Linked DNA regions of Homo sapiens: regions 2, 3, 4, 5, 6 and 7 are each linked to region 1. Evidence: promoter capture Hi-C in 16 types of primary human blood cells and fetal thymus (Javierre and others, 2016). All regions are on one chromosome and are shown on one strand. Each heading gives the region's core, a stretch centred on a gene start or on the middle of the fragment in contact. The rest is flanking DNA. Distances are from core to core; before and after follow the strand shown. Region 1 holds the start of HEG1 (heart development protein with EGF like domains 1). Region 2 overlaps OSBPL11 (oxysterol binding protein like 11). Region 3 overlaps SNX4 (sorting nexin 4). Region 4 has its middle 63 kb from the start of ZNF148. Region 5 overlaps LOC105374081 (a long non-coding RNA gene). Region 6 has its middle 16 kb from the start of ZNF148. Region 7 overlaps ZNF148 (zinc finger protein 148).

Region 1 (4,136 bases), core at 1,129-3,628:
TATTCCAACTACTCTCTCGCTGCTTTCTGGGATTCTCACATGTATTCCTTCCAGTACCTCATATACCTGAAGCCTCCATCACTCACCTCTGCAAAGGAATCAAACTGGGAAAGCCACAAAACCAAGACCAGCAGTGTTACCTGCCACACCTGTGAGGGATGTTTGGGTCACATAAGGCCCCAATTCTTACCAGCTGAGTCCTCTAAGCTAGCTGCCTCCACTGTCCCTACCTCTCTGTAATACCTGTAATACCTACCTCTCTCTAGAGATCCCGCCCCTAAGAGAAGGAAAGAGACTCATGTGCCTGCCCCATCCAGCCAGGGCCCCTGCAAGTCAGTGTCCCTCCCACCTATCCCCTAACAAGATGGAGGCCATTCAGCTAAGACAGCCTGACTACTACCCAGAGAAATCTGCCTTCGGCTCTTGGGTGTCTCCTCTGAAATGTTCTCAGTTCTCTGCAGTTCACCTTCTGTTTAGAAAAACTCACAAAATACTACACAGTGTTCCTCAGTTACTTTCCTAGTTGGAGAAAGTCGGGAAATATGTTGTTTTATGTTCTTGATTCCTTCCCGTGGAAGTTAGCAAAACAGCGTATGCTGTAAGTAATCTAAAGTCACAGTCACTCCGGGATGTGTCTCCTACACGTCTTCAGAAGCTTATCTCTCCTCTCCCTTTTCTTACTGTTCCTCGGTTTCTCAATCTTATGCCAGTGATTTAAAAATTCACAAAATAAGGCATTTTGCGATAATGGGAATACTGTTGAATATGAAATTGAGTTTTTACAGGAGAACTTGATTTTTAAAAATCCAAACTTTTTCTTATTTAACTCTAAGAAGCACCTCTAGGTTGGAGGAAGCAAGCTAATTCACGTGCCAGAAAGTCTGCATGAGATGAGAAACTTAAATGAATTGTCAATTATGCAGACAAAAAACTCAACTTTCAGGGAAACTCCAAATCAATGTCCAGTGTTGCAAGCAACCCAGCTTATTTGAATAGCCCGGACAGAGCATATGCCCTGTGTCACTCACAGGAAGGCAAAGGCTAACACCACCACGTTGCTGACTTTGTTCAAAGCACTTTCCATTTATTTTTACTTTCATTTTGTCACATCATCACTAGGAGGCTAGAAGGAACAGGGATCATCACTTTCATTTCACAGATGGAGAAAGTGAGCGCAAAGAGACAGCAGTCCCAAGGTCATAATGGTATTATGGTTAGAATTCCACTCAGTATGTGGCATATTTTTCCAGATCATAAGAAAGAACTGGACACAAAGGTAGCAGGGAGAAGAGGTCAGTTCCTTCTCTCTGCGTGGGACAGGCGGTGGCTACCACGGAGCAACAGTTCATTGGGAAAGGAAAGGGGAGGGAGGAGGCTCAGGGATGGTCCTGTATCAGCCTGTGCCTTGCAGGGGTTCAACCATGCAACCCCAACCGCGTTCCTTTGCTTTTAAGTCGAACCAGTAGAGCGTTTTGTTTCAAACTACGTACATCCTTTGTCCTTTACAATATCCCGTCCTAGAACCCCTTAAAAATCAGTTATTTAGATGAGAAAGTCGAGCCCTGTACCTGGAGAGGCCAGTTCTGTATAGCGGAAAAAATGAAACTGGGGACCGGCTGGCCAGATATCGGAGGTGGGAGAGATGCTTTGCAGTCTTTTTCCCTTTCCTTTCCATTTTTTTTAAAGTGGGGTGGAAGAGATACAGGGTACCCCATAGGAAATAAGTTTTCTTCCAAAGGGTTGGAGGAGAACGGGATAGTCACACCCCTCAGTCCAGCCAACTGCGAAAGCGTCCCTCCCTACCCGCCGACCCTCAGGGTCCCGCACACGCCGGGCGAGGAGCCCCCACCCTGGGTCGCGCCGCGCGGAGGGGCCTACGGCTGGGGATGCAGCCCGGGGCGCGCCCACGCCCCCAGCACAGACTGGCCAGGCGCCAGGTTCCCGGCTCTCACTCACCCGCGCTCCCGCCTCTGGGGGCCCGGCCGGAGGGTCCCCGCTGTGTCGCGGCGCCTGGCTCAGGGGCCCTGTAGCTGGGGCCGGGGGTCGCGGGCCCGCGGCGCTCCCGGGGCGGCGTGGGCGGCGGCTCGCGCTCCGGGCGGCGCTCCAGCTGCAGCTCCAGCCCCGCTCCCGCGAGGGGCGCCAGGCTCAGCGCGCGGCGAGCCGGGGAAGGCGGCGGGTCCCGCGTCCCGGGGGCCGCCGGCGGCAGCAGCAGCAGCGGCAGCAACAGCAGCAGGAGCGGCGGCGGCCACCGCGAGGCGCGCGGCGAGGCCATGGTGACGGCGCCCGCCCGCGCTCACATGCCCGGCGCGCGGGGCGAGGGCAGCGGGCAGCGGGCAGCGGGCGGCGGGGGCCGCGCGGGGCCGGGGAAGTGAGCGGAGTGAGGCTGCGAGCGCGCTCCCCGCCTCAAAAGTTATCGGGAGCCGCGGGAGGGCTGCCGGGGGCCGGGCTGGCTGGGCGGAGGCGGCCCGCGGCGCCGCTACATGCTAATTAGCCCGGGCGGGTCGCTGGCTGGCGGGCGGCTCCTCCTCAGTTGACATCACCGGCCCCGCGCGGCGGGCCCGGAGGCGGGGAGAGGGCAGGAAGGGGGCTGGGGCCGGGCGCCTGGAGAGCGGCCCGGCCCGGGACAGCGGGATGAGGTCAGCGGAGCCACGGTGCTGCAACTTTTGTCACACACATGCTCCAGAGTCTTCTGAATCGGGCACCACCTACCCAACTCCTTAAACGCACAAGAAGTAGGTGAAAAGCAGGTCCTGGGTAATGTGATTAGCACCAGACTAGATTATCCCAAGTGCTTTGATAGGAGAGAGAAAGGGAACGGTCCCCTGGTACCCAGCCCGCGCTGTCACCGCCGTTATTGATTTGAAGTGTCCCCACTCCCACCCCCACCTCCCCTTCTTCAGGCCCCAGGGCTGGTGATGAGCTCGTGTTTGCCAAACCTAACACCTCACCCTCCGGCCAACGCGAGAATCCGAGTATCCCCCACGCCCTCTCAAGCTTGGATGCCGTTCCCATCCGACCACTGCCTTTGGCTCACACCAGAGTTCTGCAGAGATGTCACCGCGAGGACACCCAAACAGGCTGCAGGGAAAAGAAAACTGTGAATTCAGGCAGGCTAGGGCAAACTCATCATCAGGAAAAGAACTGCAGATCGCAAATTAAACCAAATGATGCCCAGAGAACACAGAATTTTAAATGGAAACCTATGGGGAAAGATTCAAAGATTTCATGTAAACAAATTTTCTTGGTCAATAAAGTTCCATTTGTTTCCATAACCTCTCCCTCCCCAGTAAATGAATAATAAACTGTCTAAAGTTTAGGACTGTAAGCCACCTCATTAAGTGAAGAAAGAGGGGCTCAAATGGGAAAATAACTTGCTCAAGATTCTGAAGGTAGACCCGAAGACGAAATGATTGATCTGTGAATGACCATGTGATATTATTAATTCTGGTCTCCTAATTCAGAGTTTGCAATAATTCGCAAACGGAAACAAATAGTATTGCAACAGAAACAAATGTTGCAGCTCCTTGGGGTTCTTGCGAGTTCTGTTGGGGGCCCCTGTCTGACAACCAAATGCTCGTGAAAATATGAGTATGCACCTCACTGTCAGGCCTGGCTCTCCATCCTATTTCTCTGCTCTTCTCTTTTTCTCTGTCTCCAGATCTCCATGACCCACCTCCAGGAGAATGAGATCGTAGTGTCCAGGGCAGCTGCAGATGGGCCTAGGCCCACTTTCTGGTGACTCAGTACAAGTGAGTCATTTGGCAGAAAAACATAAAGGAGGCTGTGTATAAACAAACTCACCTTAAATGAGAGAATGAGGAGTAAAGATTTGGTTTTATTTTGTTTTGTTTTTAAACAAACCAGCTTTCCAGGGCTCTAACACAGAACTTCCAGGTCTCTCCAAGAAAGTACCAAACAGTAATCTCCCTGAAACTGACTTGGTTTGCTCCCATGGCCTGAGCTTAACTTCTCTGGATGCTGCTCTCACATTAACAGGCAGGACTGCACAGCTGCCCAGACCCAGCCAGACAAGCCCCAACAGACTAGGACTGTGCTCAGAGGTTCTGGTCACTGCCACTCCCTCCCCTCCAAGGAGACCATGTCACATAGTACTGGTTGCACTCCCAGGCAAGTGG
Region 2 (4,136 bases), core at 484-2,983, 500 kb after region 1:
TGGCTAATTTTTGTACTTTTAGTAGAGGGGATTTTGCCATGTTGGCCAGGCTGGTCTCAAACTCCTGGCCTCAAGTGATCTGCCTGCTTTGGCCTCCCAAAGTGCTGGGATTACAGGCGTGAGCCACTGCACCTGGCCACAAGTAACAAATTCTATCTAAACCAGCAATGAAACACGAGGGCAACACAGACATTTCAGACACACATTTTCACATTCGCTTCTTACAAATCTTTCTGAGAAATTAATGGAGGATATATTCCAACAAAATGAGAGGCAACCAAGAAAGAAGAAACGGATACAGTAAACGGATTAGCCAAAGAGAATGCTAAAGGAAATACTGGTCCAGATTAGAGTGATGTGACTCAAGAGACAGACATACTGAAGACTGTCATCCACATGCTTCATGCTGCCATTGTATCATCTTTTCAAACCTCAGGATAAAATAGCCTAGTGAAACTGATCCCAAGTGTATCTGTATTTGGCTTGTGTTGACTATCTGCTGGTGAAGTTCTTAGTCTCCTCTCCATGTTCTGCTGTCTGGATTGGCTGAAGATGCTCATTTCCCCGAAAGAAGCCTTCTGACTTCAATCTATTCCTCAGAGTTGGAGGTAGGTCACAGTTTGCTTTGAAACTGAAAATACTGAGCAGCTCACTCCCCCAGCCCACATTCCTCCTGTAGCTGACTCACACCAAATGCTCTGGGATGTATATTTTACAGGACTCACAACTTTGCCTTATAATTTCACAAGAAAGGGCTCTTCTAAACTTTCTCAATAACTTATAAGAAGCTAAAGCCAGAGACTCAAATGTTTAACTTGTCTTTTTCTGGGAGCTGCTTTCTACAAATGGCAACACAGTCCTTTCCTTATGCTAAGCTTATGTTAGCTATTCATTTTTTCCTAAACATCATTATGGAGTACAAAAAAGCAGTAAAACTATAGCAAAAAGTAGAGGGATAATTAACACACAAGTCAAGTAAATTGTTTTATGGAGGAAAAAGTAGAGGACTATAAATTAGAGGGGAACTCAGAGATTCCAAGTTCAGGCAGTGTTCTACAACTTAATGTCAGAGGTAGATACATGGGTATTCATTTTATCTTTTTTCTTTGAATGTTTATATGTATACCATTCAGTCTTCTGTGTGTTTAACACATTTCATACACACAAAAATTAACTGAAAAAAGGAAGTAAAACAAAATTCCATATAAACTATGACAATGTGAAGAAAGATAAAAGTGAGAGCTCTGTTATGTTAGGGTAGTAAAATGATAGATTTTCTTTAGTTTTCTAAAATTTTGTGTTTATATAATTTCATAATATTATTTAAAAAGAAACAAAATGAACAGTAGGAAAATGCATATTACTTATTCACAACATGAAGGCTAGGACCATGGTTATCTTATTTGTTCCTGTCCCAAGACCTAGCACAGTGTCTGGAATATAACAGGGGCCCAGTAAATATTTGTTAATTAAGTGTTATTGTTAGATAAGAGGTAGCTGTGACTGCAGTTTAGTCACCAGGCTCTTTATTTTTATTTATTTGTTTATTTTTTTTGAGACAGAATCTAGCTCTGTCGCCCAGGCTAGAGTGCAGTGGCGCAACCTCAGCTTACTGTAACCTCTGCCTCCTGGGTTCAAGCGGTTCTCCTGCCTCAACCTCCTGAGCAGCTGAGATTACAGGCGTGCACCACCATGCTCGGCTAATTTGTTTTTAGTAGAGACGGGGTTTCACCATGTTGGCCAGGCTGGTCTCCAACTCCTGACTTCAAGTGATCCACCCGCCTCAGCTTCCCAAAGTGTTGGAATTATAGGTGTGAGCCATGGCACCCAGCCACCAGGCTCTTTAATATTGCCTGAAAAGTATCATTCCATTAAATGTTGTATAGATGTTCTTAATTTGTGGTTGGTTAATGTTAATGTAATATATGTGTAACACATACAACTTTCTTTTTTTTTTTTTTTTTTTTTTTTGAGACAGGGTCTCGCTCCGTTGACCAGGCTGGCAGTGGCACAATCTTGGCTCACTGCAACCTCCACTTCCCAGGTTCAAGCAATTCTTGTATCTCAGCCACATGGTAGCTGGGACTGCAGTCGTGCACCACCATGCCCAGCTAATTTTTGTATTTTTTGGTACAGACAGGGTTTCGCCATGTTGGCTAGGCTGGTCTCGAACTCTTGAGCTCATGTAATCCACCTGCCTTGGCCTCCTAAAGTGCTGCGATTACAGGCATGAGCCACCACACCCAGCCACATACAACTTTTTAATCAACAAGGTACAAATGTAGAGAAAGTATAGTATATGCACTTATTCATGCCATGAGAGAACTTCTACCATGTGGATTACTATCACAGCACACTTTTTTCAAATGCTCTTATGCCTCATAAACCTCAATGCTGCTCTTGTGCCTTATAAATGCAAATCTACTCAGGGACTGCAAACACCATGCTAACTAATACCAAACAACCCCTTCAGAAGACTATTCATTTTTAACCAATTTCACAACTATGAGGTCTTTTCTGAACCATTAATATGAAAATATTTCTAGAACAGAAATGATTCCCAGTTGAAATACTGAAGCTATATAAATAATGAAAGCTTTATGGGTTTCTTTATTAATTCCTAAAATGTCTGCTTCTTATGCTTTCTATTTAAGTTATATTTTCAGATGAACAGTTCGTTGGAAACAATGTTTTAAATCTACCTTCAATGGCATCAAAAAAATCTCCAATTGACATCTACCTCCTAAAGTCAATTTTGAAATTCCATACTAATGTAAAATTGTTTCATCAGTAATTCAAAGTAAATAATCCTACAGTAATAAATATTTGACATATATAGGTTTTGAACTTGATTGGCTTTTTAAATTAATGTCATGGATTAATTGTTAAGACAAATTAAGGCACACTAGTTAAACTGGGAACAGAGAAAACTGGCCTAAAATTAAAAACTACAGATTAGTGCTTCTCAAACTTTAATGTATATATGAATCGTCAGGGATCTTATTAAAATGCAGATTCTGGTCCACTAAGTCTGGGACTGGGGCCTGAGATTCTGCATTCCTAACAAGTTTCCAGGTGATGGTGATGCTACTGGTCTTCAGATCACACTTAAAGAAGCAAAGCTTTTGGCCAGGAATCTGCAAACTGTAGTCTTTGGGTTAAATCTGGCCTCCTGTTTTAGTAAATGAAGTTTTGTTGGAATACAGCCATGCCCAATCCAGTATATTGTCTATGGCTGTTTTTATACTACAAAGGCAGAGTTGAATAGCTACAACAGAGACCTATGTCCACATAGCTGCAAATATTTACTATCTGGCCCTTTACAGAAAAAGTCTGCAGACTCCTGTTATAGATAATACCCCAAATGTATGATCTGCATGTGGGAAGTAAGTGGAAGTGTCAATGCTTTTCATAGTTCTGTAGGATTACGTAATTTTCTCTACATTTTCCAGTATAGTATACCAATGGACTCTTTAATTTTGTTCTGAAACTCAAAGACAATTGGTATTACTTGCCAGACAACTTCCTGCTGCACAAGAAAGCCAGAAAGCCTTTTTTTTTAGTGATGGAGTCTCGTTCTGTTGCCCAGACTGGAGCGCAGTGGCACAATCTCAGCTCACTGCAACCTCCACCACCCAGGATCAAGCGATCCTCCCACCTCAGCTTCCCAAGTAGCTGGACTACAGGCCACCATGCCCGGCTAATTTTTGTATTTTTAGTAGAGACGGGGTTTCACCACATTGGCCAGGCTGGTCCCAAACTCCTGACCTCAAGTGATCCGCCCACCTCAGCCATCTCCTGAGACAGGGTTTTGCCACGTTGGCCAGGCTGGTCTTGAACTCCTGACCTAAAGTGATCTGCCCACCTCAGCCTCCTGAGTTGGGGTTTCACCACGTTGGTCTTGAACTTCTGACCTCAATTGATCCACCTGTCTCAGCCTCCTGAGACGGGTTTCACCTCGGCCTCCCGAGGAGAGTGGATCATTTGAGATCAGGAGTTCAAGGCCAGCTTGATTATAGGCATGAGCCACTGTGCCTGGCCAAGAAAGCCATTTTTTATGAAAATAAAAAATACTGATCAGGAGACTAAAAAAAAAAAATCATAAAAAATAAAAATCACAAAAAATAAAAAGACCG
Region 3 (4,136 bases), core at 492-2,991, 400 kb after region 1:
TCGGGTCACTGCAACCTCCGATTCCCTGGTTCAAGCAATTCTTCTGCCTCACCTTCCCGAGTAGCTGGGACTACAGGCGTGAGGCACCACACCTGGCTAATTTTTGTATTTCTAGTAGAGATCGGGTTTCACCATGTTGGCCAGGCTAATCTCGAACTCCTGACCTCAGGTGATCCACTGGCCTTGGCCTCCCAAAGTGCTGGGATTACAGGTGTGAGCCACCGTGCCCAGCCCAATAATTTTTTTTTTTTTTAAAACGAAACCGGATGATACTGATTACACCAGAGAAATGTTGGCAAAATTTCTTATAATTCTATACAGTACATGGTTTTAATGGCTTACATCATTTTGTATCAAGATAATAATAAAAGAATTATAAAGTTACTCACAAATTATTCCCCTGTAAAAGGTTCAGCCGTCCTGAGTATTGTAACTGGAACTGATTCTACAGGAGTGAGTTACTCACTCAGAGTGAGTGCTTGTGAGGAACATTCCGTGTTGCTACAGTATCATCAGAGGCCAAAAGGAAAATACTCACCCCAGTTACCAGTTCCTCACACTGCTGCTTCTTGGATGCTAAGTCCTGAGCAGCCATCTCCAAGTCATACTGCATAAGTTCATGTTTCCTGCACACAGCCCTACAGATGAAAAAATGTGCTGCCATTTAACTTTTCCTTTAACATGTCAAACATTTTTTTCAAGGGTAGAGGAGAACCATTCACAATGTCTCGCTAGGGCAGAATGTGTGTGCCCAGAATTTTCAAGTTTAAAATGTAGTAGCCCAACATTAAAAATGGAATCTAATGGAATCTAGCAGAACCTAACCATAAAAACTTCATATATTCTTTTTTTTTTTTTTTTTTTTTTGAGACAGAGTTTTGCTCTTGTTGCCCAGGCTGGAGTGCAATGGCGCGATCTCGGCTCACTGCAACCTCCGCCTCCCGGGTTCAAATGATTCTCCTGCCTCAGCTTCCCTAGTAGATGGGATTACAGGCATGCGCCACCACACCCAGCTAATTTTGTATTTTTAGTAGAGATGGGAATTCTCCATATTGGCCAGGCTGGTCTCAAACTGCTGACCTGAGGTGACCCACCCACTTCGGCCTCCCAAAGTACTGGGATTACAGGCATGAGCCACCTGTACCCGGCCAAAAACGTCATATATTCTTAACACAAAAAAAGTTGTTTTCCATATACTTGGAACATTTCTTTCAATAAACATGCCATTATCACATACATAAAACATTTTTTAATGTATGTGAGAACTACATACATAATGTATACATATGTATACATAATTACATACATAATGAACTACATACATAATTAGTTCTTACATAATGTAAGAACTAATGCTGTAATCTCACATAGCAACTGAGTATTCTTAGAAAAGATAATACCTCAAAGTTTTCTTCTTTGTGATTTAGAAATGTCTATTAGGTATTTTTTTTTTTTTTTTTTTGGAGACAAGGTCTCACTCTGTCACCCAGGCTGGAGGGCAATGGTGCAATCTCGGCTAAATGCAACCTCTGCCTCCTGGGCTCAGGCAATCCTCCCACCTCAGCCTCCTAAGTAGCTGGGACTAAGGCATGTGCCACCATATCCAACTAATTTGTGCTTTGTAGAGATGGGGTCTCGCCCATGTTGCCCAGGCTGGTCTCAAACTCATGGGCTCAAGCAATCCATCCACCTCAGTTTCCCAAAGTGCTAGGATTATATGCATGAGCCATGTCGCCTGGCCTAGAAATGTTTATTAGTTTTTATGATCATAAAAGTAATCCATGTTCACTGTAAAAAGAAAAGATTCGGATGGGCGCGGTGGCTCATGCCTGTAATCCCAGCACTTTGGGAGGCCGAGGCGGGTGGATCACGAGGTCAGGAGATTGAGACCATCCTGGCTAACACGGTGAAACCCCGTCTCTACTAAAAATACAAAAAAAGCCGGGAGAGGTGGCAGGCGCCTGTACTCCCAGCTACGCGGGAGGCTGAAGCAGGAGAATGGCGTGAATCCCGGGGGGCGGAGCCTGCAGTGAGCCGAGATCACGCCACTGCACTCCAGCCTGGGTGAAAGAGCGAGACTCCGTCTCAAAAAAAAAAAAAAAAAAAAAAAAAAAAAAAGAAAAGAAAAGATTCTAATACAGCAATGCACAAAGTAAAAAAAAGAGGCTGGGCATGGTGGCTCATGCCAGTAATCCCAGCACTTTGGGAGGTCGAGGTGGGCAGATCACCTGAGGTCAGGAGTTCAAGACCAGCCTGACCAACATGGTAAAACCCCATCTCTACTAAAAATACAAAAATTAGCCGGGCATGGTGGTGCATGCCTGTAATCCCAGCTGCTTGGGAGGCTGAGGCAGGAGAATCACTTGTACCCAGGAGGCAGAGGTGGCAGTGAGCAGAGATTGTGCCACTGTACTCCAGTCTGGGCAACAGAGTGAAACTCCAACTCAAAAAAATAAAAAAAACAAAATACAACAAGAAAGTTCAAGAACACTCTCTTTCCTCCAATCCCACTATCCAGATATAATCGGTGTTACCAGATAGTATATAATCTTTCAGAATTTAGCTAGGCATTGACAAATACCATATCCATGCACCCCAAATGGTTCCTACATCTTTTCTCAAATGGCTATACACCCTGGCCATCTTTCCATGTCAACATACATTAATCCCTTTTATAATTTTTAAGAGCTGCAGAGAATTCCACTGTACTCAGCAACTTTCTTTTTTGAGACAGAATCTCACTCTGTCACCCAGGCTGGAGTGTAATGGTGCGATCTCGGCTCACTGCAACCTCCACCTCCCCTGTTCAAGCAGTTATTCTGCCTCAGCCTCTCCAGCAGCTGGGATTACAGGCACCCACCACTATGCCTGGCTAACTTTTTTGTAATTTTAGTAGAGACGGGGTTTCACCATGTTGGCTAGGCTGGTCTCGAACTCCTGGCCTCAGGTGATCCATCCGCCTTGGGCTCCCAAAGTGCTGGGATTCAGGCAGGAGCCACCTCACCTAGCCAACTTTCTTTTGCTTGGTGACTTGAAAATACATTGGTGAGACTTCCTACTACTCAAAGCCCTAGAAGGAAAACGAGCTAACAATGTGCAGATGATTTCACACCAATCACCACAGAGGTAAGGGAATAGTGCTCTTGTTTTCCTAACAGAATTCTTATACTGCTTTTAAAAGCGACAGGACAGTGTTGGCTCATGCCTGTAATCCCAGCACTTTGAGAGGCCGAGGCGGGTGGATTACCCGAGGTCAGGAGTTTGAGACCAGCCTGGCCAACAACGGTGAAACCCTGTCTCTACTAAAAATACAAAAATTAGCTGGGTGTGTTGGCGGGCGCCTGTAATCCCAGCTACTCAGGAGGCTGAGGCAGGAGAATAGTTTGAACCCGGGACGTGGAGGTTGCAGTGAGCCGAGATCACGCCACTGCACTCCAGCCTGGGTGACACAGCCAAACTCTAGTCTGTCTCAAAAAAAAAAAAAAAAAAAAGTGACAGGACAACTGACCAAAAGCCACCTATTCTGGGAAAATAATTCCTTTTTCTAAACTGATCAGAAAAAAATATATTAACTTTTTCCTAGTCACGTAGGACTATCTAAAAGAGAATTCCCTTTGGCTCTGTAAAAGATAACATAAGAACAGATAAGAAAGTCCTTGTTACATAAGGACGTTGTACAAGCTACTGATAAGACACACAGAATAAAAATAGCAATATACAACATAGTAACAGATACTGTTACACACACTGAATCTGTATTTTGCTTCCAATCTTCAAACTGGAAAAAGTGGAAACAACAACATACAGGCACACTTGATGCCTGAGGCTGGCAGGTTTTATCAAAATGATGCTTCGAGGGCAGGCCTCATCTTACATGTTTATGCCTAGCACTCTGCAACACAGAGAAATACAATGAGACCTCATTCATTATCTGAGGGAATGCATTCATTTAAAAAACACTCTACTATCTGTACTTTACAGTGGCATATGAGGAGAGTGGTGAACAACCCTGTGGCTGCACCTGGAACTTTTATTAAACTTACCGCAATGCTTCTGCATAAAAAAGATACTCTTTTAACTGATCTGCATAATGTTCTTCATCTTCCAAAATATCATCAATAGAAGATGCATACCTG
Region 4 (4,136 bases), core at 486-2,985, 380 kb after region 1:
GTTTTCATTCAAGTGGGTAAAGCAAGCTATTTGGTTATTTAAGAGAACTAGCCTATGATCTTATGGGACCACCAGCAATAACATTCCATGATTCTGTGAGATGTCCCAGATCCCTTACTCCATTGAACAATAGCCAACGTTATTTACCTAGCACATACCTACCAGGCACACTTGACATGCATTTATTGTCATTATTGTATCTAATATAACATTTCTTTTTTCTTTTTTTTTTTTTTTTTGAGGTAGGGTCTTGCTCTGTCACCCAGGCTAGAGTGCAGTGACGCAATTTTGGCACACTGCAACCTCCACCTCCCGGATTCAAGTGATTCTCCTGCCTCAGCCTCCAGAGTAGCTGGGACTACAGGCATGCGCCACCACGCCCAGCTAATTTTTTGTATTTTTAGTAGAGATGGGGTTTCACTGTGTTGGCCAGGCTGGTCTCGAACTCCTGACCTCAAGTTATCCGCCTGGCTCAGCCTCCCGAAGTGCTGGGATTACAAGTATAAGCCACCACACCTGGCCAATTGTATCTAATATAATAGTTCTGCAAAGCAGGTGCTATCCACACTTTGCCCTGAAGAATCTGAGGCTCAGTAAAGGTAAGTAACTGACAAGTCATGGAACTTGTAAGAGGTGGAGCCAGGAGTCCAACCAGGCCTGAATGTGACTTCAGAATCCCCTGATTTGCAGCCTAGAGCCTCAGTCTTGGCTACTGTTCTAGGACCAGCCCCACCTGGAGGTCCCTAACTCTGGTGCCAGTCAGGAGCTCACCTTTGTGCATGGAGCAGAGGGACCCTCCCTTCAGTGTGAGGACAGGGCACTGGGAGGCAGTCAACTCATGCCTGGGACACTGCTGGGGGAGGGCTAGGGGGAAACACTGGTCCATCCAGGCAGAACCAAAACATGGTAGGATGTTTTAAAAGTCCTTTTCAATTGCTGGGCACGGTGGCCCACATCTGTTATCCCAGAGCTTTGGGAGGCCGGGGGAAGAGGACTGCTTGAATTCGAGACCAGCCTGGGCAATACAGTGAAACCCCATCTCTACAAAAAATGAACAAAACTAGCCAGGTGTGGTGGCACGTGCCTGTAGTCCCAGCTACTCAGGAAGCTGAGGCGGAAGGATGGCTTGAGCCCAGGAGGTGGAGGCTGCAGTGAGCTATGATCCTGCCACCACACCCTAGCCTCGGTGATAGAGCGAGATGCTGTCTCAGACAAAGAAAAAAAAAGGCCTTTTCATATTCCAATTCCATTGAAATACAATACCCACAACATGGTGAAACAATTTGAATGTATGTTCAAATGGTTTGAAAAAGATGCTGCCCAGCAAGAGTGGAAAATGGACAAGCAAAGCACCAGTGTTTGTACAGACAGGAACGCTAAAAAAAAGGAAAGGGGAAGAGTTTAAAAAATAAAACCTTCTTTTTTTTTTCTAAAGTGGAGCAGAAAAATCTCAAAATGTGATGGGGAGATTGAAGAAAAGAAAGAGGCACGTCCTTCCTCCCAGGCTGGAAGATTGAAGGGTGCCTGGATAGATGGTGAATCTGAGATTCTCTCCAGAACCAGGAATGCCCACCTATGCCCCCTAGAAGGGTATATTCGAATCTCCTGGGGACCATTCACTGCCCACCAACATCCCACTCTCTAAATTTCTTGCCTCAAATTCTGATACGCTTTCCCAGTTGAAGGTCTTCCTATAGCTTTGATTACTGCTAGGAGTGTGCTAGTGCAGAGGGCAGAGGCAGCAAAGAATGGGCAGAAAATCAGGGAGAATTGCCCAAGTGTGGGTGACTTAGAAAAAGAGATTTTCCCCTGAGGAATTATATTGATGAAATCTAGGCTTGAAAGGTCCAAGTTCAAAGGTCTGCTTACTTTATTATCGTTTTACCCAGAGGAATGTGCCTGTTAGGTTAATATTTATTTTATTGAATAATCTAGTTTTAGTTACTGTCAATAAAAGTCAGCGCTACTTTTTATAGGAAAAAAAGGCAGTTTTGTGGCTAATTTCAGATCTCAGAGAGGTTGTTCCTGGGCCCATTGGCTCTACCGCCACCTGGTGGTAGATTCCTGTAGAACAGGGCTGGCCATTTGGGTTTCGGACCAGAACCCAAGTCTGAGAGGTTGGAATCCTGATCTGCTCACCCAGTAGCAGGGTGACCAGTTGGACAGACTTCCTCTCTCCCTGAATTTCAATTCCCATATCTTAAAATAGAGACCATAATATCTACTTTTGGAGTTTGTCGTAACAATCAAATGAGTTAACATATATGTAGTGCCTAGTGCATAGTAAATGTTTAATAAACTATTAACTATTAGCCTCATTGAAAAAGAACTTGATATCCCCATGGGCTTGTTTCCAGTGGTTTGCCATGGAGTTCTGTTCTCACTATTTCCATAACTGACTGGAGCAAAGCTACAGAAGACACGGCCCCTGCATCATGGCCGACACTCTGCTGGTCAGAGGCTGGGAGAGACTTACGGTTTGGAGGGACGGGCCCAATCTAACGGATTAAATTGTAAGAGGAGTAATGCAAGTTCCAAATGACACATAAAGTCTGCCAAGTGCACACATATTGGGTGAGGGACAAAAAAAAAAAAAAAGACCAAGTCAAAAACACTGAGGGATTTTGGGAACAGATAGCTCAACAGGAGCCAATTGGGTGACACAGGCACCAAAAATTCTAATTTCATCAACAGCCATGAAGGAACAACATATATGAAAAGTCTTTAAAATGTTCATACAGCCTAACCTTGTAATTCCACTACAAGAAATCTACCCAGAGGAGGAAATCATCAGAAACAATTGCATACAAAGATGCTCACTTCAGTGTGGTTTATAAAAATGAAAAATTAGAAACAATGTCCAATAATAGACAAAAAGTTAAATTGTGGTTTATCCATGCAGCCCTTTAAATTTTTCAAAGGGAAATGCACATGAAATAAGTTGAGGGGGGTGGTGAGAATCGGGCTCTCATTACAAATAGAGGACACATTGATAAAAGGCAGAATTAGATAAGATATAACAAAAGCCTATATGCAGCTGATAAGATAGCTTCAAAATTTATAATGCAAAAACTGACAACCCTGCAAGGAGAAATGGACAAGTTCAACTTTAGGAGACTTTAATACACCTCTCCCAGTAATTTATAGATCAAGTCAACAGTAACAACAACAACAAAAAGTCAGGAGACTGATTTGAGTAATAACTCCGTTTACTGCAATACCTCAGTCTCAGTGAATTGATTTTGTCTGTGCACTTATCAGGCAATTACAATAATTTGTTAGAATGACTCACAAACCCAGGGAATGCTTACTTATTATTCCTGATTTATTACAAAGGAAAATTTAAAGGATGCCAATAAACAGCCAGATGGAAGAGACGTGAGAAATAAAAATAAAATCCTGAGTACCTCCAACAACAACAACAACGACAAAAAATCAGTAAGAAAAAAAGAGGGCGGGCGTGATGGCTCATGCCTATAATCCCAGCACTTTGGGAGGCTGAGACGGGTGGATCACCTGAGGTCAGGTGTTCAAGACCAGCCTGGCCAACATGGAGAAACCCCATCTCTACTAAAAATATGAAAAGTAGCCGGTCGTGGTGGCAGGCACCTATAATCCCAGCTACTCAGGAGGCTGAGGCAAGAGAATCGCTTAAACTCTGGAGGCGGAGGTTGCAGTGAGCTGAGATTGTGCTACTGTACTCCAGCCTGGGTGACAGAGTGAGACTCAGTCTCAAAAAATAAAAAAAATTTAAAGAAGAAAAGATTTGAACAATAGAATTTAGAAGCTTAATATGAGGGCCCTGCATAGTACACTGCACCCTACAGCTGGAGAATACATGTTCTTTTCAAACACATCTGGGATGTCTGGGCACAGTGGCTCAAACCTGTAATCCCAGCATTTTGTGAGGCTGAGGCGGGCAGATTGTTTGAGCCCAGGAGTTCCATACTAGCCTGAGCAACATAGGGAGACCTCCAACTCTACAAAAAATTAGAAAATGAACCAGGTATGGTGGTGTGAGCCTGTAGCCCTAGCTACAGAAGCTGAGGTGGGAAGATCACTTGAGCCTGGGAGGTCGAGGCTGCAGAGAGCCGAGATCACACCACTGCACTCCAGACTGGGCGACTGAGCAAGAC
Region 5 (4,136 bases), core at 799-3,298, 360 kb after region 1:
AAAAAGACTTTTAAAAGACTCTCCAAGTCTAGATGAATAAATTGCTTCTTTCCAATTGCTGCTTTTCCAGAGAAAAGAATTCCAGAGAGCATGCAACTTTAAGAAGCCAGTAAGGCTGAGTACAGTGGTTCATACCTATAATCCCAGCACTTTGGGAGACCGAGGCAGGCCAATTACTTGAGACCAGGAGTTGGAGACCAGCCTGGCCAACATGGTGAAACCCCATCTCTACTAAAAATACAAAAATTAGCCAGGTGTGGTGCCTGTAGTCCCAGCTACTTGGGAGGCTGAGGCAGGAGAATCACTTGAACCCGGGAGGCAGAGGTTGCAGTGAGTCAAGATTACGCCACTGCACTCTAGCCTGGGTGACAAAACAACACTCCATCTCAAAAAAAAAAAAAAAGAAGAAGAAGAAGCCAGGAGAATGGCTTGCGTTAAGAGGAAAGGTGTGGCTAATAGCATCAAATATTTTCCAAGAGGTTAAGAAAGACAAGGGCTGAAAAGATTCCACTAGATTTAGTGACCACCTAAATGACCTTGGTCACCATGATAAAAGCAGTGAGTGGCCGTGGTAAACTGGGTGTGGTGACCAGATATTATGGTAAATAATTAGGGGGTTTTGTTTGTATTTTTTAGACACAAGGTCTCACTCTATTGCCCAGGATGGAGCAATGACATGATCATAGCTCATCACAGCCTCAAACGCCTGGGCTCAAGGGATCCTCCTGCCTCAGCCTCCTGAGAGCTGGGTCTACAGCCATGCACCACCACACCTGGCTATTTGTTTTACTATTTTCTTTTGATTTTTGTAGAGACAGGTTCTTGCTACGGTGCCAGGGAGGGCTGGTCTCGAACTCATGGGCTCAAGTGGTCCGCCCCAAGCTTCCCAAAGTGCTGGGATTACAGATGTGCCCAACTGCACCTAGCCATAAAGAGTGAGTTAACTGAAGGTGAGAAAGCATTCAGTCTCATTTGACTTTTGACCCAGTTTGAGAATCATTGTCTTTTACTAGGCAAGTTTAACTCATCTACATTTATATTCATAATGGTTTTATTTGGGTTTGCTTCTTTCATTTTCTTTTATGCTTTCTAGTTTTTATATTCCCTTGCTCTTTCTTTTCTATTCTACGTTTTGCTGAGTAGATTCTTATATTTACCATTAGCTCCTGAGGTGAATTCGAGGGTAGACAGTCTGCTTTTAAATCTACTCAGTAGTGGAACCAGAATTTGCATCCAGGCAGTCCAGAGTCCACAGATTCTAGCTACTGTGCTACGCTGCCTTTCTTGCAACTCACAGCATCATAACAGACATGGAAAATTAATTTGTCCTTGGAAATAGTCACACCACATGGGCAATAATTTCACTTCCAGAAATATATCTTAAAGAGCCAATCAGAAAATTATGCACATAGGTACTCACTGCAGCATTAAAAAAGTTTTTTTCCACTCTGTCACCCAGGCTGGAGTTCAGTGACACAATCACAGCTCATTGCAGCCTCAACATCCTCAGCTCAAGCAATCCTCCTGCCTCAGCCTCCCAAGCAGCTGGGACTGCAGGTGGCTCGAGCCACCACGTTCACCTCAATTTTTTATTTTTTGTAAAGATGGTGGTCTCACTATGTTGCCCAGGCTGGTCTCGAACTCCTGGGCTCAAGTGATCCTCCCAACTCAGCCTCCCAAAGTGCTTGGATTAGGGTGTGAACCTCCTCCAGCCGGCATTTTTTAAAAATAGTAAAACAATGTAAATTTGCATAGATTTTCCTTTCTTAAAAAATACTGGCCGGGCGCAGTGGCTCACACCTGTAATCCCAGCACTTTGGGAGGTCGAGGTGGGTGGATCATCTGAGGTTAGGAGTTCGAGACCAGCCTGGCCAACATGGTGACACCCTGTCTCTACTAAAAATACAAAAAAAAAAAAAAATTAGCTGGGCGTGGTGGTGGGCACCTGAAATCCCAGCTACTCCAGAGGCTGAGGCAGGAGAATCGCTCGAACCCAGGAGACAGAAGTTGCAGTGAGCCAAGATCGTGCCATTGGATCGCAGCCTGGGCAACAAGAGTGAAATTCCATCTCAAATAAATAAATGAATTAATAAATTAATACATAAATAAATCAGCTGTTTCTCTTTAATGCTTGACTTGTCTTAGAGTCTGTGTTAATAGTTTTTTGCCTTGTTTGTGAATTTTGGTTGTAAATTGGTCATGGTCATTTAAAAGTTGATTGAAAAAATATATATGTTAAAATGTGTGCCCTGCTTGCTTCCTGGGCTGGCTATTTACAGCCCAGAACAGGACATGACATACAGGAGTGGGAAAGCAGAGTCCATCTGAAGGTGACAGAAGAAGCAGGCATTTTCCAGCACCAGGACCAAACATATTAAAAGACTAAGAGATTTGCTTCTAAGATGTCTGGCAATGAAGCACAAAGAAACACAGTAAGTTACATAATTTTTATTGTCCAATATGACAAAGAAATTCTAATTCTTCTGCGGGAGTAGTTTTATCTGGGATCTAAAAGTCAAGCAGGAATTTATTCTGTGTATCCTCCTGGAAAGGGTATTGAGGGACGCTAAAGACTCTCTTTAAACAATTGATAAAGAAATCCCATTAAACCCATTCGTGTGGATGGCCTCTATGAACTTGCCATCCAAGCTCACAGTGAGGCATCAGCTCCTAACCAGGGGAAGGCGTTTATGCCTCGCAGCTGAACGGGGGTTCGGGTGCGGTCTTCTGGTTCATCTGCAGAGCTCTGCCTCCAGCAAGGCCCTTCACATCCCGTGCTTCTCCAGCTTTGCACAAAAGCACCCTCACGTGAACACCAGCTGGGGGTGGGTGAGAAGAGGTTGTAGCCCAAAAAGGCCAGCTGTAAGCTAAAAATTTCTTTGAAAATTTGCAATTTATATTTAAAATTCATGTGAATTTTACAGTCTGTTTCATAATGTGTTTATAGATAAAAATGTGTTTTCCCCCTTAAAACTTCTAAAAAATTGGTGCTCCGGGTGGATGGGCTGTATTTACCCTATTTGAGTATCTCTCGGCAAGCTACCCTGGACCTCCCCACCTAATCCCCACCCTTCACAGACATACCATGATTTTAATTTGATGTTGAGCCAGACTCTCCAAGTCTAGATGAGTAAATTGCTTCTTTCCAATGTTATACGTCCTGGAATAGAAAGAACATCATATATTCTTCTAACATATAGAGAAGAGGGTCTACGTAAGCTTTGGTTGACAGGTGTTTTTGAAATTGCCTTGCGAACATTTGTGAGTAGGACTTCCTGTACAGACAGGGGTGACCACATTAGGCAAGAGCTAAAGGATCTTTTAAGCTCTAGGGCTCATGATTGGTCATGACCTACCTAAAGTCCCAGGGAGAGCATGTCTGGGTGGCAGGCACTTGGCAGGGCTGACCTCACTACAATCACAGGGCTCTAAATGAGAGGTTTGAAACCCCCCATTTGCCACAAGTTCCCTGAGAGAGCAAGCATCTCTAGGAACTTCTGCACATTGAATCATTTATCCTGGAAACTCAGTCCCTATTCAGTTGGCCCTTTCTCTGGCTAGGACTTTTGGCTTTCAAAAGTCCAGGGTGGGTTAAGGCAGCTCTAAATGGCAGAGGGCTGGTGTGCAACTCCTCTGGCTAGATTTAGGGCTGGGCCAGGCTGTCCATAGGTGTTTAAGGTTGGATGGAAGGCACAAGATCATTTGGGGAAAGATGTATTCTCCCGAAATTGGAGGTCACATCCTTCATGAGCAAGACTTGTAGAGTGCTGTCCGTGGGTGTGATGAAAGGGGGCTCATTAAGAATAACAAAGGGACCAGACTCAGTGGCTCATGCCTATAATCCCAGCGCTTTTGGAGGCCAAGGTGGGAGGGTCCCTTGAGCTCAGGAGGTCGAGACCAGCCTGGACAACATAGAGAAACCCCATCTCTTCAAAAATACAAAAATTAACCAGGCATGGTGGTGTGTGCCTGTAGTTCCAGCTACTTGAGAGACCAAGGCAGAGGGATTGCTCTAGCCCAGGAGGTCGAGGCCGCAGTGAGCCATGTTCGTTTGTGCCACTGCACTCCAGCCTGGGCAACAGAGCAAGACTCTGTCTCAAAAAAAAAAAAAAAAAAAAAAAAAAAGAAGAACAAAG
Region 6 (4,136 bases), core at 614-3,113, 340 kb after region 1:
AAAGCTGTATGGGCGGTCACAGGACTGAAAAAGGGGCCCCAAGCACAATAGAAGTATTAGGCAAAGGGGCAGAAGAGAGGACAAGAGTAGATAGAGGTCAATCCATGGAAGCAGTGGCAGGAAGTCAATAGACACTTTTATTTCCTCTGTAAACCACGAGATCACCTGCTGAGAGGAAGCGGGAAGGTGTTGTGGTAGGAAGTCGGAAGAGTTTGGAGAAGGTTTGAAATGGCTGCATTCAAAAGGGAAAATAAAGAGATTAAGAGCAGCTCGAGGACTCTGAGATTAGACCCATAAGGAGCAGCTTGTTACGTCACTTTCTCCAGCAGCATCCAGCAGGTCAGGTAGAATATGGGAAGGCCAACAAATACCCGCAATAAGCTCAAGGTTTCCTAAGGTCAGCACTGCAAAGAATATGGGTCAAGGAAATCAATGGCACTGGCAAAAGGGACAGACCTGTGGTCTAGCCAGAGAGGAGAGAAATCCCATTCAGAGTGCGGGAGCAGATGGGGCTAACGGGAGATAATAAAAGGGCCAAAACCTCAATACAACTGAAAACCAGGCACAGTGAGCAAAATGAAGTAAGAGAGCTGAAAGTTAGATAGTTGGGGTCAGAGATAGAAACGAATCACTTGGATGGGATGATCAGGGATGGAGAAGACCAGTAGTGAGCCCAGGAGAGAGATGATGTGGGCCTAAAAAACTACCCTTTATTAAGCCCCTATTTGTCCAGGCTTAACATGCTAAAAGCTTTACCTGTATAATCTCAGGTAATACAACTCTCAAAGGTAAGGCTTGTATCAGCATTATACAGAAGAGGAAACAGGCCAAGAGAAACTGCATACTTGGCTAAGCGCAGTGGCTCACGTCTGTAATCCCAGCACTTTGGGAGGCCAAGGTAGGCGGATCACTTGAGGTCAGGAGTTAGCCTGGCCAACATGGTGAAATCCCATCTCTACTAAAAATACAAAAATTAGCCAGGCATGGTGGCACATGCCTGTAATCCCAGCTGCCTTTTAAACAGAACCCTTAACTTTCTTTTTTTGAGTTGAAGTTTTGCTCTGTTGGCCAGGCAGGAGTACAGTAACACAATCTTGGCTCACTGCAACCTCCATCTCCCGGGTTCAAGCAATTCTTCTGTCTCAGCCTCCTGAGTAGCTGGGATTACAGGTACCCACCACCAAGCCGGGCTAATTTTTGTAGTTTTAGTAGAGATGGGGTTTCACCATGTTGGTCAGGCTGGTCTTAAACTCCTGACCTCAAGTGATCCACCTGCCTTGGCTTCCCAAAGTGCTGAGATTATGGCACGCCCAGATCTCTTTTTTTTTTCTTCTTCTTTTTTTCTTTTTTTTTTTTTTTTGAGACAGTTTCACTCTTGTTGCCCAGGCTGAAGTGTAATGGCGTGACCTCAGCTCACTGCAACCTCTGTCTCCTGGGTTCAAGCAATTCTCTTGCCTCAACCTACAGAGTAGCTGGGATTACAGGTATCTGCCACTACGCCTGGCTAATTTTTGTATTTTTAGTAGAGATGGGGTTTCACCATGTTGGCCAGGCTAGTCTCGAACTCCTGACCTCAGGTGATTCACCCGCCTTGGCCTCCCAAAGTTCTGGGATTACAGGCGTGAGTCACCGCACCTGGCCCCAGAGCTCTTAACTTTCTAAATAATTCTCCGATCTGTCTTCTGCTTTCATCTTTAACACACCTGCCTTAGTTTAGGCTCTGAGTGGCAGTATCACCTAGCACAGCGCAGTGCTTCTCAAACTTTGGCTGCTTCAGTTATCTGCAAGGCATATTGAAACACAAATTCTAGGCCCCACCCCAATTCGAGAACCCCAGAATATCTGATTCAGTAAGTCTTGGATAGGATCTGATAATGTGAATTTCTGTCAAATTTCCAGGCGTTGCTGATGCTGCTTGTTGCTGGTTGAGACCCAGTGGCCTAGAGGTTGATTTCAAATGTTACCCCTCTTATTTACTATATGACCTTCAGCAACTTATGTAGTTTCTTTTTTATTTATTTTATTTTATTTTTGAGATAGAGTCTTGCTCTGTCACCCAGGCTGGAGTGCAGTGGCACTATCTGGCTCACTGCAACTTCCACCTCCCAGATTCAAGCAATTCTCCCTGCCTCACCCTCCCAAGTAGCTGGGATTACAGGCGCCCACCACCACACCTGGCTATTTTTTTGTATTTTTAGTAGAGACGAGGTTTTGCCATGTTGTCCAGGCTGGTCTTGAACTCCTGACCTCAGGTGATGCGCCCGCCTTGGCCTCCCAAAGTGTTGGGATTACAGGCGTGAGCCACTGTTCCTGGTCCCAATTTATATGTTTTTAATTGCTTATGCTCTAAGTGTCGTATCTAAGAAATTATTGCCTAATCCAAGGTCAAAAAGATCTACACTGATTTTTCTTCTAAAAGTTTTATGATTTTAGCTCTTACATTTAGGAAGTTCATGATTTTGAGTTAATTTTTGTGTATGGTGATAGGTCAGATAATTCTTATGATTCCATGAGATGAATATTGCAGACTACAGGGCACATTGTAAGTGCTCAGGGACTGGTAGTTAGTATTATTATTGTATGATTTGTTTAAGGAAATCACCAATGTACAATAATCATTGAATAAACTTCACAGAAAGATCAATCTTACTTCTTCACGGTCATGTCTTCTTTGGGGGAAAAACCGTAACATGATCACCTAATTTGATTGTCCACCTTGCTCATCTCCTTGGTAACTTCTAGTTGTTTCCAAAAGGATGAAGACTTGCCACAGGTAGAGAATTCAAAGCAGAGGTTGGTCCCAAAGGCAGGCCTGGCACCATCCTGGGGAATGAGGTACCTCTGGCAGAAGCATAAAGCCTCCCAGGGTGACTGCAAAAGAGGAAAAAACATGCATTTTGGCATGGGTATTTTTCATGAAACATTATAGTTTCATCTTTGTGTTTCTATGTCCATGTGCATAAATATTTATTCACATAAGCTTTACACAGAGTTAATTAACTTCTAGGGATTTACCAAGGACCCAAGCGCTACAATTAAGTCATCAACCCAGCTACCCAAATATACCATATTTATTATCTGGATCTTCCGTATTCTCAGTGGTTCCATGCGAGTCTTCTCTTGGGAAGTCCTGCACCCTAAAATCTCAGTGTTTTTAATTGGGTGTGGAGACTGCTTTGCCGCATCGTATATTTGGCAAAGTCTGGAGATATTTTTGGTTGTTACATCTGAAGGGGCATTACTGGCATCTAGTGGGTGGAGGCCAGGGATGCTGCCAAACATCCTGCAATGCACAGAATACCCCCCATACAAACAATTATCCAGCCCAAAATGTCAACAGTGCCAAGGCTGAGAAACCCTGACTAGCTATATGTGAGTTGTCTATGCTTACACTTTGAACTAAGGCAGCAAGCTGTGATGGCTCTGAAATCAGAGAGACTGGGCTCAAATCCCAGCACTGTCACTTACTGCCTCTGTGACCCAGAGCAAGTTACTCCACCTTTCTGGGCCTTAGTTTCATCTGCTAATCACTGTAATATCTATCCATGTGTATATAAAATAATCTAATATACATAATAATCATCTAACATATTTTAAATCATCTTATGTGTAAACACACACACATGTGTCTGTGTTATATGCTGCCCAATGACTAGTACATATTAAATACTCAATGAATATTAGCTGACATTAATATAGGTGACAACAATATTATATAAAAAAAAAAACTTAGGGCCAGGCATGGTGGCTCACACCTGAAATCACAGCACTTTGGGAGGCCAAGGCAGGAGAATTGCTTGAGCTCAGGAGTTCAAGACCAATCTGGGCAAAATAATGAGACCCCCGTCTCCACTAAAAATAAAAAATATTTGCTGGGCGTGGTGGCACAAGCCTGCAGTCCCAGCTACTTGGAAGGTGGGAGGATTGCTGGGGTCAGGGAGATCAAGGCTTCAGTGAGCTATGATTGCACCACTGCACTCCAGCCTGGGCAACAGAGCAAGAACCTGTCTCAAATAAATAATACCTTAGTTTTTTTTTGTTTTGTTTTGTTTTGTTTTGTTTTTTTAAGTTGAGTTCATTGGCTGGGCACGGTGGCTCATGCCTGTAATCCCAACACTTTGTGAGGCCAAGGCAGG
Region 7 (4,136 bases), core at 766-3,265, 310 kb after region 1:
ACAACTCTAAATTTCCAGTCAGCCAGGCATGGTGGCTCACACCTGTAATCCCAACACTTTGGGAAGCTGAGGGAGGGGATCACTGGAGCCCAAGAGTTTGAGATCAGCCCAGGCAACATGGTGAGACCACATCTCTACAAAAAAAATTGAAAATTAGCCAGGCGTGGTGGTACATGCCTGTGGTCCCAGGTACTCGGAAGGCTGAGGCAAGAGGATCACTTGAATCCACGAGGTAGAGGCTGCAGTGAGCTGCTGCGTTCACACAACTGCATTCCAGCCTGGGCAACAGATCAAGAGCCTCACGTTCGTTCATTCAATAATAAATAAATAAATAGCATATTTCTAGTCATCTTCCCCTCTTCCCTACCTCCAACTGCATTCCACTTCCATATTCTAATCCTACTGCTATCAAACTAATTCAAGCCCTTCTTAATATCTCCAGTAGCCACCTAACTGGTCTTTTTGTTTTCTAACTGGTCTTTTCACATACAATCTTACTCTACCACCACATTACCCGCAATCTACCCAGTAAGGTATAGCTATTGCCAGCTATCTAATATACGGTCCTTGGCTCAATTCTCTACTCAGAAAAGTTCAACAGCTATACACTAATGATTTCTGCTAACATACTTTAATCATATGTTAACATACTTTAATTCTCACATCCTCACCATAACCCTTGCCAGGAAAGTATGATTATCAATTTTATGAGAAAATGGAAACTCAGAAAGGAAATAATTCTCCATAATCATACAGTGGGTAAACAGAAGAGCCAAGACTAAAACCCAGCTTCTGTTTGCTTACCAAGCACAACACTACATCATATCAAATACAAACTACTTAGCTTAGCTTTCAAGGCCATCCATTTTCAACCCAACCCCAACTGACTCTCCTACCTTGTATTATACCTTATTCATGAACTCTCTGCGTTCCAAACTATAGATTGTGATTAATTATTTTGTCGGTCATGAAATCAGTTTAATGAGTGACAATCAGCTTTTTTTTCTTCCCCCTTGGCCAGCTTTTTTTCTTTTTAGTCAAACAAAATAGATAACATCCAACTGCACCTGCCACTGTTAAGGACAGTTACTGTATTATGAAACTTCTTGTTTTACCCACACACAAACATTCATACATGCATATATTAGATAGAAGTGTGACATGTATTTCTTACTATAGGTCATAGTTTAAAAATTAAAACCTAACTCACCATTCCCCACATCTCCTGGGCTTCTCACCTCCAAGCCTTTGCTTACGCTAATCTCTCAGGCAGGAATGCTCTCTTTCAGTAATCTTTGCCAATCAAAATCCTATCAATCCAAAACTTAAAAAAAAAAATCTTATCAATCCCTTCAAAGACTAGCTAAAATTCCACTTTTATGCCTTTAAAGTTCTGTCTCAGGTTTTCTCCTAATCAAATGCATTTTCTGCCTTTTAAATTCAGTAATATTTGGTATATTTGTGACTCACAGATATATTTGTGATTATAGTACAGGTATTTGTGCACAAGTCCAGCTGCCCTACCACAATATAAATCCCAAAGGTTTTATTCCTGACAGCAAAGCATTATATGCTTTTGCATATAACAAATGTGCATTATCTGTTAAATAAAGCTCATCCCATCATTTTCTGAAACCTTGTTATAAATCAACATAATTTAATAACTTCTACTATATTCCAAACTTCTGTTGACTCTTATCCTTCAAATAGCCTTACCATCTTCCTCCTCAAAACAGCCGTCTCAAATAATCCTCTTTACCCTCCATCTTCTCATGCTTTCCTCCAAAGATAGCCTGTCATATTTCAGTAATCTTTTCCCTCCTTCAGAATCATGCTTTCTATCAGATACCACCTTTCCTTCCCCATCTGCTTATCTTCTACCTTATTCCTAGTTCTCTAACACCGATACACATTGATCTATATTCTTTAAACAGATTTTTCTTTTCTTCATCATCTCTTTAACCAGATTTATTGAATTATTTCAATTCATTGCTAGTGCATATAGTTTGGCAGCCCTGTTAAGTCCTTTGTAGAAAAAGGCAGGTTATGAATAAATGAAAAAGAAACATAAAACATATAGACAATTCAGATCTCCTAAATTATCTCAAATATCTCATTCATTCATTCATTCATTCATTCAACAAGCTCGTGTCTACTGGACACATGCCCTCAGTTCTGTCTATTCTATTCCGTAATTCAGAAAGCAGCTTTGAGAAAAGCATGCAGGAAAATGCCAGGATAACAGGGCCAAGTTGACTCATGCTCTTCTCTCATGAAGGCCAAGTAATTTGTGGGGTACAGGCTCATAAAAGAACAACTAAAAGTTACACTATACGAAGACGGAAAACAGACCCCATAGTTGTTTCAGGGGGCTCAACATCTACCAACAAATGTGAATCTGAAAGGAACAAACCAGTAGGAGTAGCTAAAATGAAACAGGCAGAAAGCATTCAGACAAAAATAGATCCAGACTCTAGGTTCACTTTAGGGCTGCAAGAGGAATTTGGAGTCATTTAGTTCCTCTCTGAGATCCCTAAGGAATCTTTTCAAATATAAGTATGGTTCACTTAAATCATTTCACCAAACCTTAGCCAATGTTCATTTCTCCATTCCCTGAACTCCTACAGCACTTACTGTCTGTAAAACTCATTTGTGAACTTAAACTATCTTGCTCAAGGTAATAAAATTATTAACAAACATACTCAGAATTTATTTCATCTGAGAAAAATGAGTTTTTAAAAAATTTATTTACACATTCAAATCAGTATGGTCCTCTTTAAAATAAGTTACTTTGGAAGGCTACCACTTACTCATTTATTCACTCCATCCATCCAACCATCTGATGCACTCAACCAACATTTATGTAGTGCCTAACTAACTACATGTGAAGCTATCACCCCTGTTCAAAATATTTCCAACTTCCTCCTTGGGAGTGTTTTCAAAATCAGCTAATAAGTCAACCAAGAAAATTATTCCCGTTTCTGTGATTAACTGGATTTAAGGCAAAACTATTTTTCATTCACTCTATTTGATATTGACTAACCTTCAGCATTTCTAAAAATCAAAATTTCAAAGTAAAAAGATCTGTCATCAATAAGACCATTCAGAATAAGATTATACCATGTATTATTTAAAAGTGTGCCTCTTGGCCGGGTGTGATGACTCATGCCTGAAATCACAGCACTTTGGGAGGCCAAGGTGAGTGGATCACTTGAGGCCAGGAGTTCGACACCAGCCTGGCCAACACGGCGAAACCCCATCTCTACTAAAAAATACAAAAAATTGCCAGAAGTGGTGGTGCACGCCTGTAGTCCCAGCCACTCTGAGACTGAGGCAGGAGAATCGCTTGAACCTGGGAGGCAGAGGTTGCAGTGAGCCAAGATGGCGCCACTGCACTCCAGCCTGGGTGACAGAGAGAGGCTCCATCTCAAAAAACAAACAAACAAACAAAAGTGTGCCTCTTGGGCTCGGCGCAGTGGCTCACACCTGTAATCCCAGCACTTTGAGAGGCTAAGGCAGGCAGATCACCTGAGGCCAGGAGTTCGAGACCAGCCTGGCCAACATGGTGAAACCGTGTCTCTACTTAAAATACAAAAATTAGCTGGGTGTGCTGGTGTGTGCCTCTAGTCCCAGCTACTTGGTAGGCTGAGGCACGAGAATCAGTTGAACTCAGGAGGCGGAGGTTGCAGTGAGCCAAGATCACACCACCGGACTCCAGCCTGAGTGACAGAGTGAGATCCTGCCTCAAAAAAAAAAAAAAAAAAAAAAAAAGCCATAGAAGCCTAGAAAGAACATTCTAGGGTCATTTTAATACATTTCCAGATTTCCCACACTAAAACTCTCCAGAAGACAAAGAATACTGCAACCTCAAAAAAAAAAAAAAAAAAAAAAAGTGTGCCTCTTGAAGGGATTATGAACTCCTAGCAAACAGGGACCATGTTTCGCTCACCTTTATAGACCCCTTCCCCCAACAGCACACACTAGATACTCAATAAATAGGTAAATTCTATAGAATTGTACTCAGAAGTTAATTCAGAAAAGGTGTTCTAAAAACATTCTGAACACTGCTACTGAAAATGACCACCGAAATATAAAAGTTCTTATCTGGAGATATAATTTTGATATTTGTTTTTAAA

What was found. Contacts are between HindIII fragments. The CHiCAGO score rates a contact against its expected background, and 5 or more counts as called.
Region 2: a fragment that was not itself captured here is called in contact with the fragment with the promoter of HEG1 in region 1 in 1 of 17 cell types (erythroblasts); the score reaches 5.1 in erythroblasts.
Region 3: a fragment that was not itself captured here is called in contact with the fragment with the promoter of HEG1 in region 1 in 2 of 17 cell types (naive B cells and total CD4 T cells); the score reaches 5.6 in naive B cells.
Region 4: a contact is called between a fragment that was not itself captured here and the fragment with the promoter of HEG1 in region 1, in 7 of 17 cell types (total CD4 T cells, naive CD4 T cells, activated CD4 T cells and 4 more). The highest score is 7.6, in total CD4 T cells.
Region 5: a fragment that was not itself captured here is called in contact with the fragment with the promoter of HEG1 in region 1 in 2 of 17 cell types (naive CD8 T cells and megakaryocytes); the score reaches 5.1 in naive CD8 T cells.
Region 6: a contact is called between a fragment that was not itself captured here and the fragment with the promoter of HEG1 in region 1, in 4 of 17 cell types (activated CD4 T cells, total CD4 T cells, naive CD4 T cells and 1 more). The highest score is 7.5, in activated CD4 T cells.
Region 7: a fragment that was not itself captured here is called in contact with the fragment with the promoter of HEG1 in region 1 in 3 of 17 cell types (naive CD8 T cells, activated CD4 T cells and total CD4 T cells); the score reaches 7.2 in naive CD8 T cells.

The regions. Positions count from the first base shown.
Region 1 is chr3:125,053,619-125,057,754 of GRCh38, forward strand. HEG1 (heart development protein with EGF like domains 1) reads right to left here and starts at 2,379. Exons shown (of 17, transcript NM_020733.2): 1 at 1,957-2,379. The coding sequence starts at 2,272. RefSeq lists silencers at 1,873-2,032, 2,093-2,182, 2,263-2,642 and an enhancer at 2,893-2,942. The HindIII fragment of the contact is 2,339 bases long and covers 654-2,992 here.
Region 2 is chr3:125,555,845-125,559,980 of GRCh38, forward strand. The region is part of intron 8 of OSBPL11 (oxysterol binding protein like 11); the gene reads right to left. Among named protein-coding and RNA genes, the nearest start is that of OSBPL11, 38 kb to the right of the region's middle. The HindIII fragment of the contact is 1,721 bases long and covers 874-2,594 here.
Region 3 is chr3:125,456,728-125,460,863 of GRCh38, forward strand. It overlaps SNX4 (sorting nexin 4), which reads right to left. Exons shown (of 14, transcript NM_003794.4): 10 at 4,044-4,133; 11 at 539-638. Among named protein-coding and RNA genes, the nearest start is that of SNX4, 61 kb to the right of the region's middle. The HindIII fragment of the contact is 5,987 bases long and covers 1-4,136 here.
Region 4 is chr3:125,435,941-125,440,076 of GRCh38, forward strand. No RefSeq gene overlaps it. Among named protein-coding and RNA genes, the nearest start is that of ZNF148, 63 kb to the left of the region's middle. The HindIII fragment of the contact is 4,100 bases long and covers 1-3,785 here.
Region 5 is chr3:125,412,104-125,416,239 of GRCh38, forward strand. It overlaps LOC105374081 (a long non-coding RNA gene), which reads right to left. Exons shown (of 3, transcript XR_924428.4): 2 at 3,085-3,160; 3 at 2,736-2,819. Among named protein-coding and RNA genes, the nearest start is that of ZNF148, 39 kb to the left of the region's middle. The HindIII fragment of the contact is 2,337 bases long and covers 881-3,217 here.
Region 6 is chr3:125,389,301-125,393,436 of GRCh38, forward strand. No RefSeq gene overlaps it. Among named protein-coding and RNA genes, the nearest start is that of ZNF148, 16 kb to the left of the region's middle. The HindIII fragment of the contact is 2,230 bases long and covers 749-2,978 here.
Region 7 is chr3:125,365,516-125,369,651 of GRCh38, forward strand. The region is part of intron 1 of ZNF148 (zinc finger protein 148); the gene reads right to left. Among named protein-coding and RNA genes, the nearest start is that of ZNF148, 7.7 kb to the right of the region's middle. RefSeq lists enhancers at 2,889-3,389, 3,390-3,890. The HindIII fragment of the contact is 4,992 bases long and covers 1-4,136 here.